Regions from separate parts of the Homo sapiens genome. Here region 1 is linked to region 2. Evidence: promoter capture Hi-C in human tissues and cell types (Jung and others, 2019). All regions are on one chromosome and are shown on one strand. The core of a region is centred on a gene start or on the middle of the fragment in contact, and the rest is flanking DNA. Distances in the headings are between cores, read along the strand shown. Region 1 has its middle 13 kb from the start of SLC44A2. Region 2 holds the start of SPC24 (SPC24 component of NDC80 kinetochore complex).

What was found. The method cuts DNA at HindIII sites, captures the fragments that hold promoters and counts their contacts. A contact is called where the count stands out against the background at its distance.
Region 1: a fragment that was not itself captured here is called in contact with the fragment with the promoter of SPC24 in region 2 in 1 of the 25 tissues and cell types used here (heart left ventricle).

Annotation. Positions count from the first base shown.
Region 1 is chr19:10,610,036-10,615,684 of GRCh38, forward strand. It overlaps a transcript of SLC44A2 not described here. Among named protein-coding and RNA genes, the nearest start is that of SLC44A2, 13 kb to the right of the region's middle. The HindIII fragment of the contact is 8,359 bases long and covers 1-5,649 here.
Region 2 is chr19:11,152,329-11,157,455 of GRCh38, forward strand. SPC24 (SPC24 component of NDC80 kinetochore complex) reads right to left here and starts at 3,454. Exons shown (of 5, transcript NM_182513.4): 1 at 3,289-3,454. The coding sequence starts at 3,448. RefSeq lists a silencer at 3,411-3,570. The HindIII fragment of the contact is 16,265 bases long and covers 2,396-5,127 here.

The sequences.
Region 1 (5,649 bases), core at 1,878-4,377, 540 kb before region 2:
CCTCAAATGATTCTCCCACTTTGGCCTCCCAAAGTGCTGGGATTACAGGCGTGAGCCACCGAGCCTGGCTAATGTTACTTATATTTAGATTGTTGGGTGGTGGCCTGTTTTTGTAAGGCTAGTGGGCTAAGAATGGCTCTTATATTTTTAAATGGTTGTGAAAAAAGAAAAAAAAATATATATATATGACAGATGATATGTGAACCACAAAGCTTAAAATCTTTAATATCTTGTCCTTAACAGAAAACATTTGCAGAGCCCTGGTAGAGAATTCTCCCTAGAGACTTTTCTTTTCCTTTTTTTTTTTTTTTTTTGAGACTGAGTCTCACTCAGTCACCCAGGCTGGAGTGCAGTGACGTGATCTCGGCTCACTGCAAGCTCCGCCTCCCGGGTTCACGCCATTCTCCTGCCTCAGCCTCCCGAGTAGCTGGGATTACAGGCGCCCGCCACCATGCCCGGCTGATTTTTTTGTATTTTTTTAGTAGAAACGGGGTTTCACTGTGTTAGCCAGATGGTCTTGATCTCCTGACCTCGTGATCTGCCCGCCTCGGCCTCCCAAAGTGCTGGGATTACAGTCGTGAGCCACCGCGCCTGGCTTTTTTTTTTTTTTTTTTTTTTTTTGAGATGGAGTTTCACTCTTGTTGCCCAGGCTGGAGTGCAATGGCGTGATCTTGGCTCACTGCAACCTTTGCCTCCCGGGTTCAAGTGATTCTCTGGCCTCAGCCTCCCGAGTAGCTGGGATTACAGGCATGTGCCACCATGCCTGGCTCATTTTTGTATTTTTAGTAGAGACGGGGTTTCACCATGTTGGCCAGGCTGGTCTGGAACTCCTGACCTCAAGTGATCCGCTCGCCTCGGCCTCCCAAAGTGCTGGGATTACAGTTGTGAGCCACCGCGCCCCGCCAAGACTTTTCTTTTGCCATTTCCCAATCGATCCCCAAGGTGAACATGATATTTATTTATTTATTTTTAATTTAAAAAAAAATTTTTTTTGAGAGGGAGTCTTATGATGTTCCCCAGGCTGGTTGAATTCCCCGGCTGAAGCGATCCTTCCCCTTCAACCTCCTAAGTAGGGGACTATAGGCATGTGCCTCTGTGCCGGGCTAGAGAGCATTATTTTAAAATATTATTTTAGGCTGCGTGCAGTGCCTCACGCCTGTAATCCCAGCACTTTGTGAGGCCCAGGCGGGTAGGTCACTTGAGGTCAGGAGTTCGAGACCAGCCTGACCAAGATGGTGAAACCCCATCTCTGCTAACACTACAAAATTTAGCCAGGCGTGGTGGCAGGTACCTGTAATCTCAGCTACTCAGGGGGCTGAGGCAGGAGAATTGCTTGAACCTGGGCAGCAGAGGTTGCAGTTAGCCAAGATTGCGCCACTGCACTCCAGCCTGGGCAAGAGAGTGAGACACTATTTCAAAAAATAATAAATAAATAAATAAACAAACAAGAGACCCGGTGCAGTGGTTCACTCCTGTAATCCCAGCTGTTTGTGAGGCCAAGGTGGGTGGATCGTGGTTCACTCCTATAATCCCAGCTGTTTGTGAGGCCAAGGTGGGTGGATCGCTTGAGTCCAGGAGTTTGAGACTAGCCTGGGCAACATTGCAAAACCCCTTCTTCCCAAAAATATGCAAAAAAATTAGCTGGTCATGGTGGCTTATGCCTGTGGTCCGAGCCACTCTGGAGGGTGAGGTGGGAGGATTGCTTGAGCCTAGGAGGCAGAGGTTGCAGTGAGCCGACATTGTGCCACTGCACTCCAACCTAGGTAACAGAATGAGACCCCATCTCAAATATACAAGTAAACAAATAAACTCTTACATAATAAAATTAATAAATTCCCTCTGTTCTGGCAGGGGGACTAAAAGCTAATTATAAGTAAGTCCTCAAGTCCATGGAAGATTTTAGCTTTCCATGTGAAAGAATCTTCTACAAATCTTTGGCTAGCTGTTTTCACCTCAGAGGTAGCTCAGCCAAGAAGTCTCCTTCCAGATTGTGACCTATTAATTTCTGTGTGTGTGTGGCATCTGGATCTTTTTAAAGCTTCTTAGGCTGAGCCGGGTGTGGTGGCTCACTCCTATAATCCCAGCACTTTGGGATGCCAGGGCGGAAGGATCACTTGAGCCCAGGAATTTTATACCAGCCTGGGCAACATAGTGAGACCCTGTTTCTGCAAAACAAAAAATTAAAAATTAGCGGGGCGTGGTGGTGCATGCCTGTGGTCCCATCCACTAGGGAGTCTGAGGCGGGAGGATCACTTGAGCCCAGGAGGTCAAGGCTGCAGTGAGCTATGATTGCGCCCCTGCACTTCATCCTGGGCAAAAAAGGAGACCCTGTCTCAAAAAATAAAAAATAAAAAAAGGTTAAATGTTTCTAGAAGCAAATCTCTGGTTTGGTGCCTAACATAGTCCAGCATACAGTAGGCGCTCTATCTTTTGCCCTTAACCCTTCTGAGCCTCCCCACCCAGATGCTGTCCTCAAACCCTTTGTCAAAAGAGGTGTCTGGGCAGCTGGCGATGCTCATTCCCCAGGCACAGACTTCTGGGAAGGCAGAGGCCAGTGGCTGGCTGTACGGGTGAGGCCTTGGGCCGCTGCAGCCCTTGGGGACTTGGCCAGTGTCCGGAAGCTGTGGGGGCTGGGTGGCATTTGATGTCCTGGCACCAGCACTGTGACTGGGCAGGCTGTGGCAGTTCTCTTATCGCCCACGCCCACTGCACTTGGGTGGGTCAGCCGTCACAGCCAGCAAGGCTGGCACCCGAAGGCTGCCTCTCCCAATCCTGGCCTTGTCCAACAGCTCAATTTTCCCAATTTTTCTTCCACACCATTGCCGCAACGTTATCTCTGCTTCTCCCAGTACCTGCCAAGGAAAAGGCCTGGGTTGGCTCCAGCAGGGCGTTGGTTTGACTCCTGGCTGTGCTCCTCACCAGCTGTGTGGCCCGAGCAAGCAACCTCAGTGTGCCCGTCGTGAAATGGGATCACACTAATGGTTAGTGGGGATTGGAGAAGTTTTTGTTTTGTTATTTTTATTTGTTTGGTTTTGGTTTTTTAGAGACAGTGTTTTCTGTCATCCAGGCTGGAGTGCAGTGGCGTGATCACAGCTCACTGCAGCCTCTGCCTCCCGGGCTCAAGCGATTCTCCCACCTCAGCCTCCTGAGTAGCTGGGACCACAGGCATGCACCACCACACCCAGATAATATAGTTATTTTTTACTTTTTATTTTCTTTCTTTTTTTTTTTTGAGATGGAGTCTTGCTCTGTCACCCAGGCTAGAGTGCAGTGGCGCAATCTTGGCTTGCCACAACCTCTGCCTCCTGGGTTCAAGTGATTCTCCTGCCTCAGCCTCCCGAGTAGCTGGGACTACAGGCGCCCACCACTATGCCCGGCTAATTTTTTGTATTTTTAGTAGACATGGGGTTTCACCACGTTGGACAGGCTGGTCTCAAACTCCTGACCTCAAGTAATCTGCCTGCCTTGACTTCCCAAAGTGCTGGGATTACAGGTGTAAGCCACTGCGCCTGGCCAAGTTGAAGACTTTGGCTGGGTGTAGTGGCTCATGCCTGTAGTTCAAGCACTTTGGGAGGCTAAGGCAGGAGGACTGCTTGAACCCAGGACTTTGAGACCAGCCTGGGCAACATAGTGAGACCCCGTCTCTTTAAGAAAAATGGAAGAGGGTGGTAGCAGAGTCAGAGGAGGACATGGAACGACGGAAGCGAGGTGGGTTTGATGTGATTGCTGTCTTTAAAAATGGAAGAAGTGGCCAGGAGCCAAGGAATGTGGGCGGCCTCTAGAAGGTGAAACAGACAAGGAAACAGATTTTCCCCTAAAATCTCCGAAAGAAACAGCCCTGCCTACACATCGATTGTAGCCCAGTGAGATGCATTTTGTGCTTCTGTCCTCCTGAGCTGTGAGATAATAAATTTGTGGTTTTTATTTATTATTATTATTATTATTTTTGAGACGAGTTTTGCTCTTGTTGCCCAGGCTGGAGTGCAGTGATGCGATCTTGGCTCACTGCAACCTCTGCTTCCTGGTTTCAAGCAATTCTACTGCCTCAGCCTCCTGAGTAGCTGGAATTACAGGTGCACACCACCACGCCCAGCTAATTTTTTGTATTTTTAGTAGAGATGGGGTTTCACCACGTTGGCCACGCTGGTCTGAAGCTCCTGACCTCAGGTGATCCACCTGCCTCGGCCTCCCAAAGTGCAGGGATTACAGGCATGAGCCACCGCACCCGTCCATAAATTTGTGTTTTTTTAAGCCACCAAGGCATTGGTGTCTTGTTACAGCAACGAAAGGAAATAATGCATTTGACCCTCAAACCACATGGGTGTGAGGGGCACCAACCCCCTGTGAAATTAGAAATCTGTGTATGCCTTAAGTTTTTGTAGAGACAGGGTTGTGATCTGTTGATCAGGCTGGTCTCCAACTCCTGGCCTCAAGAGATCCTCCCACCTCAGCCTCCCAAAATGCTGGGATTGCAGGCATGAGTCACCATGCCCGGCCTGCATATAACTGCATATAAGTCCCCCAAAACTTAATTAGTGATAGCCTACTGTTGACTCTTAGCCTTACGGACAACATATCAACATACACATATTGTGTCTCTGTATTATATATATCGTATTCTTACAATAAAGTAAGCTGAAGAAAAGAAAATGTGGCTGGGCGCGGTGGCTCACGCCGATAATCCCAGCACTTTGGGAGGCTGAGGCGGGCGGATCACCCGAGGTCAGGAGTTTGAGACCAACCTGGCCAACATGGTGAAACCACGTCTCTATTAAAAATACAAAAATTAGCCGGACATGGTGGTGCGTGCCTGTAATCCCAGGTACTTGGGAGGCTGAGGCAGGAGAATCTCTTGAACCCGGGAGGTAGAGGTCACAGTGAGCCAAGATTGCGCCACTGCACTCCAGCCTGGGTGACAGAATGAGACTCCGTCTCAAAAAAAAAAAAAAAAAAGAAGAAGAAAAGAAAAGAAAATGTTATTAAGTTGGTGCAAAAGTAATTGCGTTTTTTTTTTTTGCCATTCCTTTTAAGGGAAAAAATATTAAAATGTAAGGAAAAGAAAATACATTTATTATTTATTAAGTGGAAGTGGATCATCAAAAAGGTTTTCAGAGGCTGGGCGTGGTGGCTCACACCTGTAATCATAGCACTTTGGGAGGCCAAGGCAGGTGGATCATTTGAGGTCAGGACTTCAAGACAAGCCTGGCCAACATGGTGAAAATCCTGTCTCTACCAAAAATAAAAAAAAAAATTAGGGGCCAGGTGCAGTGGCTCATGCCTGTAATCCCAGCACTTTGGGAGGCCAAGGTGGGAGGATCACTTGAGGTCAGGAGTTTGAGACCAGCCTGGCCAACATGGTGAAACCCCATTTCTACTAAAAATACAAAAATTAGCCAGGCATGGTGGCTCACACCTGAAGTCCCCGCTACTCGGGAGGCTGAGGCACAAGAGTCGCTTAAACCCGGGAGGCGGAAGTTGCCGTGAGCCGAGATCACACCAGTGCGCTCCAGCCTGGGCAACAGAGGGAGACTCCGTCTCAAAAAAAAAAAAAATGGTCTTCACATTGAGTGAGCTGAGGAGGAAGAGGAAGAGGAAGGGGAGGGGTTGGTCTTGCTGTCTCAGGGGTAACAGAGGCAGAAGAAAAATTGT
Region 2 (5,127 bases), core at 2,204-4,703:
CCTCCCGAGTAGCTGGGATTACAGGCATGCGCCACAACGGCCAGCTAATTTTTGTAATTTTAGTAGAGACCAGGTTTCACCATGTTGACCAGGCTGGTCTTTAACTCCTGTCCTCAAGTGATTCACCCACCTCGGCCTCCCAAAATGTTGAGATGAGAGGCGTGAGCCACCACACCCAGCCTGAGGGTGTACTTTAACTCCTCTGCCCCACATCTGTGACATGAAAAACAGGTCCAGAGACAGAAGTTCAGTGACTCGCCCACAGGTACATAGCTCCAAACCTAGGATGTGAACTGGATCTGTTTGACCCAAAGCCTAGGATCCCTGGATCCTGATTCTCAGTTTTCTTGGCCCCAGATTCATCCATTCTGCTAACAGCCAGGCTGGCCGAGTCACATCTTTCTCCTCAAGCCATCAAAGGAGGGGGAGTTAATGGAGGGGTGGAAGAAGGAGGAGGGAAGGAGGGAAGAGCCTGCTTGGGACATCACATTCAGGATAATATTCAGACTCCTCCTGGGCACTCTCCAGGCCTGGCAGTCAGGCGGCTGCTGAGCTCATCTTCTGCTTGCCAAGTTCATTCTCACCTCCTGACCTTTGCATTTGCAATCCACGCTGCCAGGAACACCGTTCCTGAGCCACCCCGTGGACTGGCTCCATAGGCCAATCAAGGCTCAGCCCAGGCCTCCTCATAAAATGTGACTGTATAAGGCACCTGAAACCCCTGGCACTGCAGCTGTCAGGGAGAACCGTATGGCGGTTCCTCAGAAATCAAACTTTGAATTACCATTTGATCTGCTTCTGGCTGAATACAAAAAAGAACTGAAAATAGAGTCTTGGCTGGGCGTGGTGGCTCACGCCTGTAATCCCAGCACTTTGGGAGGTCGGGGCAGGTGGATCACGAGGTCAGGAGATCGAGACCATCCTGGCTAACACGGTGAAACTCTGTCTCTACCAAAAAAAATACAAAAAAAAAATTAGCCGGGCGTGGTGGCGGGTGCCTGTAGTCCCAGCTACTCGGGAGGCTGAGGCAGAATGGTGTGAACCCGGGAGACGGAGCTCGCAGTGAGCCAAGATCACGCCACTGCACTCCAGCCTGGGTGACAGAGCGAGACTCCATATCAAAAAAATAAAAAAAAGAAAATAGAGTCTTGGGCTGGGCGCAGTGGCTCATGCCTATATTCCCAGCACTTTGGGAGACCGAGGCGGGCGGATCACGAGGTCAAGAGTTTGAGACCAGCCTGGCCAACATGGTGAAACCCCATCTTTACTAAGAATACAAAAATTAGCTGGGCATGTTGGCACGTGCCTGTAATCCCAGCTACTTGGCAGGCTGAGGCAGGAGAATTGCTTGAACCCAGGAGGCATAGGTCGCAGTGAGCAGAGATCACGCTGCTGTACTCCAGCCTGAGCAGCGGAGTAAGACTGTCCTGGGAAAAAAAAAAAAAAGAAGAAAATATGGCTGGGCACGGTGGCTCATGCCTGTAATCCCAGCACTTTGGGAGTCCGAGACGTGTGGATCATGAGGTCAGGAGATCGAGACCATCCTGGCTAACACGGTGAAACCCCGTCTCTACTAAAAAAATATATATAAAAATATTAGCCGGGCGTGGTGGCGGGCACCTGTAGTCCCAGCTACTCGGGAGGCTGAGGCAGGAGAATGGCGTGAACCCAGGAGACGCAGCTTGCAGTGAGCCAAGATTGCGCCACTGCACTCCAGCCTGGGTGACAGAGCAAGACTCCGTCTCAAGGAAAAAAAAAATACAGTCTTGAAGAGATATTTGGGCACCCGTGTTCATAGCAGCGTTATTCAACACAGCCAAAAGGTGGATACAACCCAAGTGCCCATGGATGGATGAATGAATAAACACAATGCGGTCCATCCTTCTATATCATGAAATATGACTCAGCTTTAAAATGGACGGAAATTCTGGCCAGGCGTAGTGGCTCACCCCTGTCATCCCAGCACTTTGGGAGGCCGAGGTGGGCGATCACTTGAGGCTGGGAGTTTAAGACCAGCCTAGCCAACATGGTGAAACCCCATCTCTACTAAAAATACAAACATTAGCTGGGCATGGTGGCGCATAAGTGTGTTCTCAGCTACTTGGGAGGCTGAGGTGGGAGGATCACTTAAGTCTGGGAGGCAGAGGTTGCAGTGAGCCAAGATCACACCACTGCATTCAAGCCAGGGTAATGGAGCGAGGCTCTGTCTCACAGTAAGTACACAAAATGAAAGGAAATTCTGATACAGGCTATGACATGGATGAACCTGGAGGACATTATGCTCCATGAAATAAGCCAGACACAAAAGGGTAGATATTGTATGATTCCACTAGGAAGGGTAGATATTGTACAATTCCTCGTAAGGTTCCTAGAGGAGTCAAATTTGAGACAGAAAGTAGAACCCTGGTGGGTGCCAGGGTCTGAGAAGGGGATGGGGAGTGAGTGTTTCATGGGGACAGAGCTTCAGTTTGGAAAGATGAGAAAGTTCTGGAGATGGATGATGGTGCTGATGGTTGCACAGCAGTGTGAATGTGCTTAAGGCCACTGAACTGTGCAGTTACAGATAGTGAAGATGGGCCGGACACAGTGGCTCACGTCTGCAGTCCCAGTACTTTGGGAGGCTGAGGCAGGCAGATTACCTGAGGTCAGGAGTTTGAGACCAGCCTGGCCAACGTGGTGACCCCCCGTCTCTACCAAAAATACAAAAATTAGCCGAGTGCGGTGGCAAGCGCCTGTAATCCCAGCTACTCAGGAGGCTGAGGCAGGAGAATAGCTTGAACCCGGGAGGTGGAGGTTGCGGTGAGCCCAGGGCCTGGCAGCAGCAGATGCTCCATAAAACATCTGAATGCCTTCAGGAAGAAGGGATGGGCTATTGTCACAACCATTTGACAAGGAAGGAAGCTGAGGCACAGAGAATTTAAGAAACTCACCTCAAGTCTCACAGCGGACATGGGGATGGGTGCTAGGATTCAAACCCGGAGCTTTGACTCCTGAGCCCCAGTTCAAACCCTGAGACCCCCAGCTCCTGCTCACGGAGAGCTCAGAAGGGGCCAACCCCTCCAGACTCCTATATTTACCACTAAACCCCTGGGGGGTGGGGGATGGTTGCTGTCATAAAGCCGATTTCTCAGATGGTGAAACTAAGGCTCAGAGGGGGCCGTCCCAGGGGGCATAGGGCAGGAGATGGGAGAGTCCAGGAGAGAAGGGGTTTTGAGGTGGGCCTGGTCGCCCCCTCCCAGCACCCGGGCCCCTTCCCCCGTGGGCCCGCGACCACGCTCCGACCCTCACCTCGCAGCTGCTTCTCGGCACCGTCTTGCGTTTCCAGCAGCCGCTCCACCACCTGCTCGTGGCGCCCCAGCAGCCGTCGCTGCTGCGCCTCCGCGCGGTTGGCGCCCAGCAGGCTGAGCAGCCCCTGGCTCACCTCCTCTATGTCGCGGAAGGCGGCCATGACTACGCCAGGCTCCAACCCGCGCAAATTTGACTGTCCGCGGGGCCCGCCCTCTTCCAGAAGAGGTTGCTTTCCATTGGATTTTTTGATACGTCAGTCATAAGCAATGGCCAATAGGCATGGGGAACAGGATCTTAGACTGGGCTAAGCCGCCTTTGGTCTGGCCTGGTGCGCCTGCGACCACTCCTCCGTCAGTCATCGGTGATGACCAATCGGCGCAGGAAGGGGGAGGCTCCGTTATCCTTCCCGATGCGCCTGCGCGGGAGAGAAAGCGGCTGTTTATTTCTCCATAGGTCGAGCGCTTGCTCTGTGCAGGGTGGGGTTCTAACGGCAAAGCAGCGAGCAGCTTCTCCTGGAACTTACATCCTACAGTGTGTGCGTGGGATACACAATAAGCATAGAGAATAAGTAGATTCTATGAGAGGCTGCATAGCAAAATGGCGTCTGCAGCCAGATTTACTGGGTTCGAATCCCAGCGTTGCCACTTACTAGCTGTGTTACCCTGGACAGACTTCACCTCTCTGTGCGGTACTTTCCTCCTTAGTAAAATGAGGGTCATACTAGTGCCTGTGTCAGCGTTGGCGTGAGAATTCTTCTTATTACTTTTTTTTTAGAGACAAGGTATTGCTCTGTCACCCAGGCTGAAGTGCAGTGCCACAATCATAGCTCATTGCAACTTCGACCTCCTGGCCTCCAGCAATCCTCCTGCCTCCGCCTCCCAAAGTGCTGGGATTACAGGCGTGAGCCACCGAGCCCAGCCTGGCGTGATAGTGTCTCCTATTCAGTAGGTGCTATATAGTTGTTTAATGAAACATACATAGAATCCTAGCATGTAGCTGGGTGCAGTGGCTCACGCCTGTAAGTCTGAGCTCTTTGGAAGGCTAAGACAGGAGGATCGCTTGAGCCCTGGAGTTTGAGACTAGCCTGTCTCAAAACAAAACAAAACAAAGAAAAGATCAGTGCTGACTCTAAGGTGCTGGTTCCATGCTAGACACTGGTATTTCTGCAAGAAACAAGATGTTAAGATGGCATCTTTTTTTCTTTCTCTCTCTTTTTTTTTAAGACAGAGTCTCACTCTGTTGCCCAGGCTGGAGTGCAAGGCATTCCAGCCTGCTTCCTGGGTTCAAGGCATTCTCCTGCATCAGCCTCCCGAGTAGCTGGGATTACAGGTGCCCGCCACCGCACCCAGCTGATTTTTTGTATTTTTAGTAGAAACGGGGTTTCATTATGTTGGCCAGGTTGGTCTTGAACTCCTGACCTCGTGATCTGCCTGCCTCAGGCTCCCAAAGTGCTGGGATTATAGGCGTGAGCCACCGCGCCTGGCGTGGCAACATTTTTATGTGTGCTACCACCTAAAGAACATCTCATTGCTTTCCTATGATTTTTTTTTCTTTTCTTTTCTTTTCTTTTTTTTTTTTCTTGAGACAGAGTTTCGCTGTTGTTGCCCAGGCTGGAGTGCAATGGCGCGATCTCAGCTCACTGCAACCACCACCTCCCAGGTTCAAGTGATTCTCCTGCCTCAGCCTCCCGAGTAGCTGGGATTACAGGCATGCGTCACCATGCCCAGCTAATTTTGTATTTTTAGTAGAGACGGGGTTTCTCCATGTTGGTCAGGCTGGTCTTGAACTCCCGACCTCAGGTGATCCACCTGCCTCGGCCTCCCAAAGTGCTGGGATTAC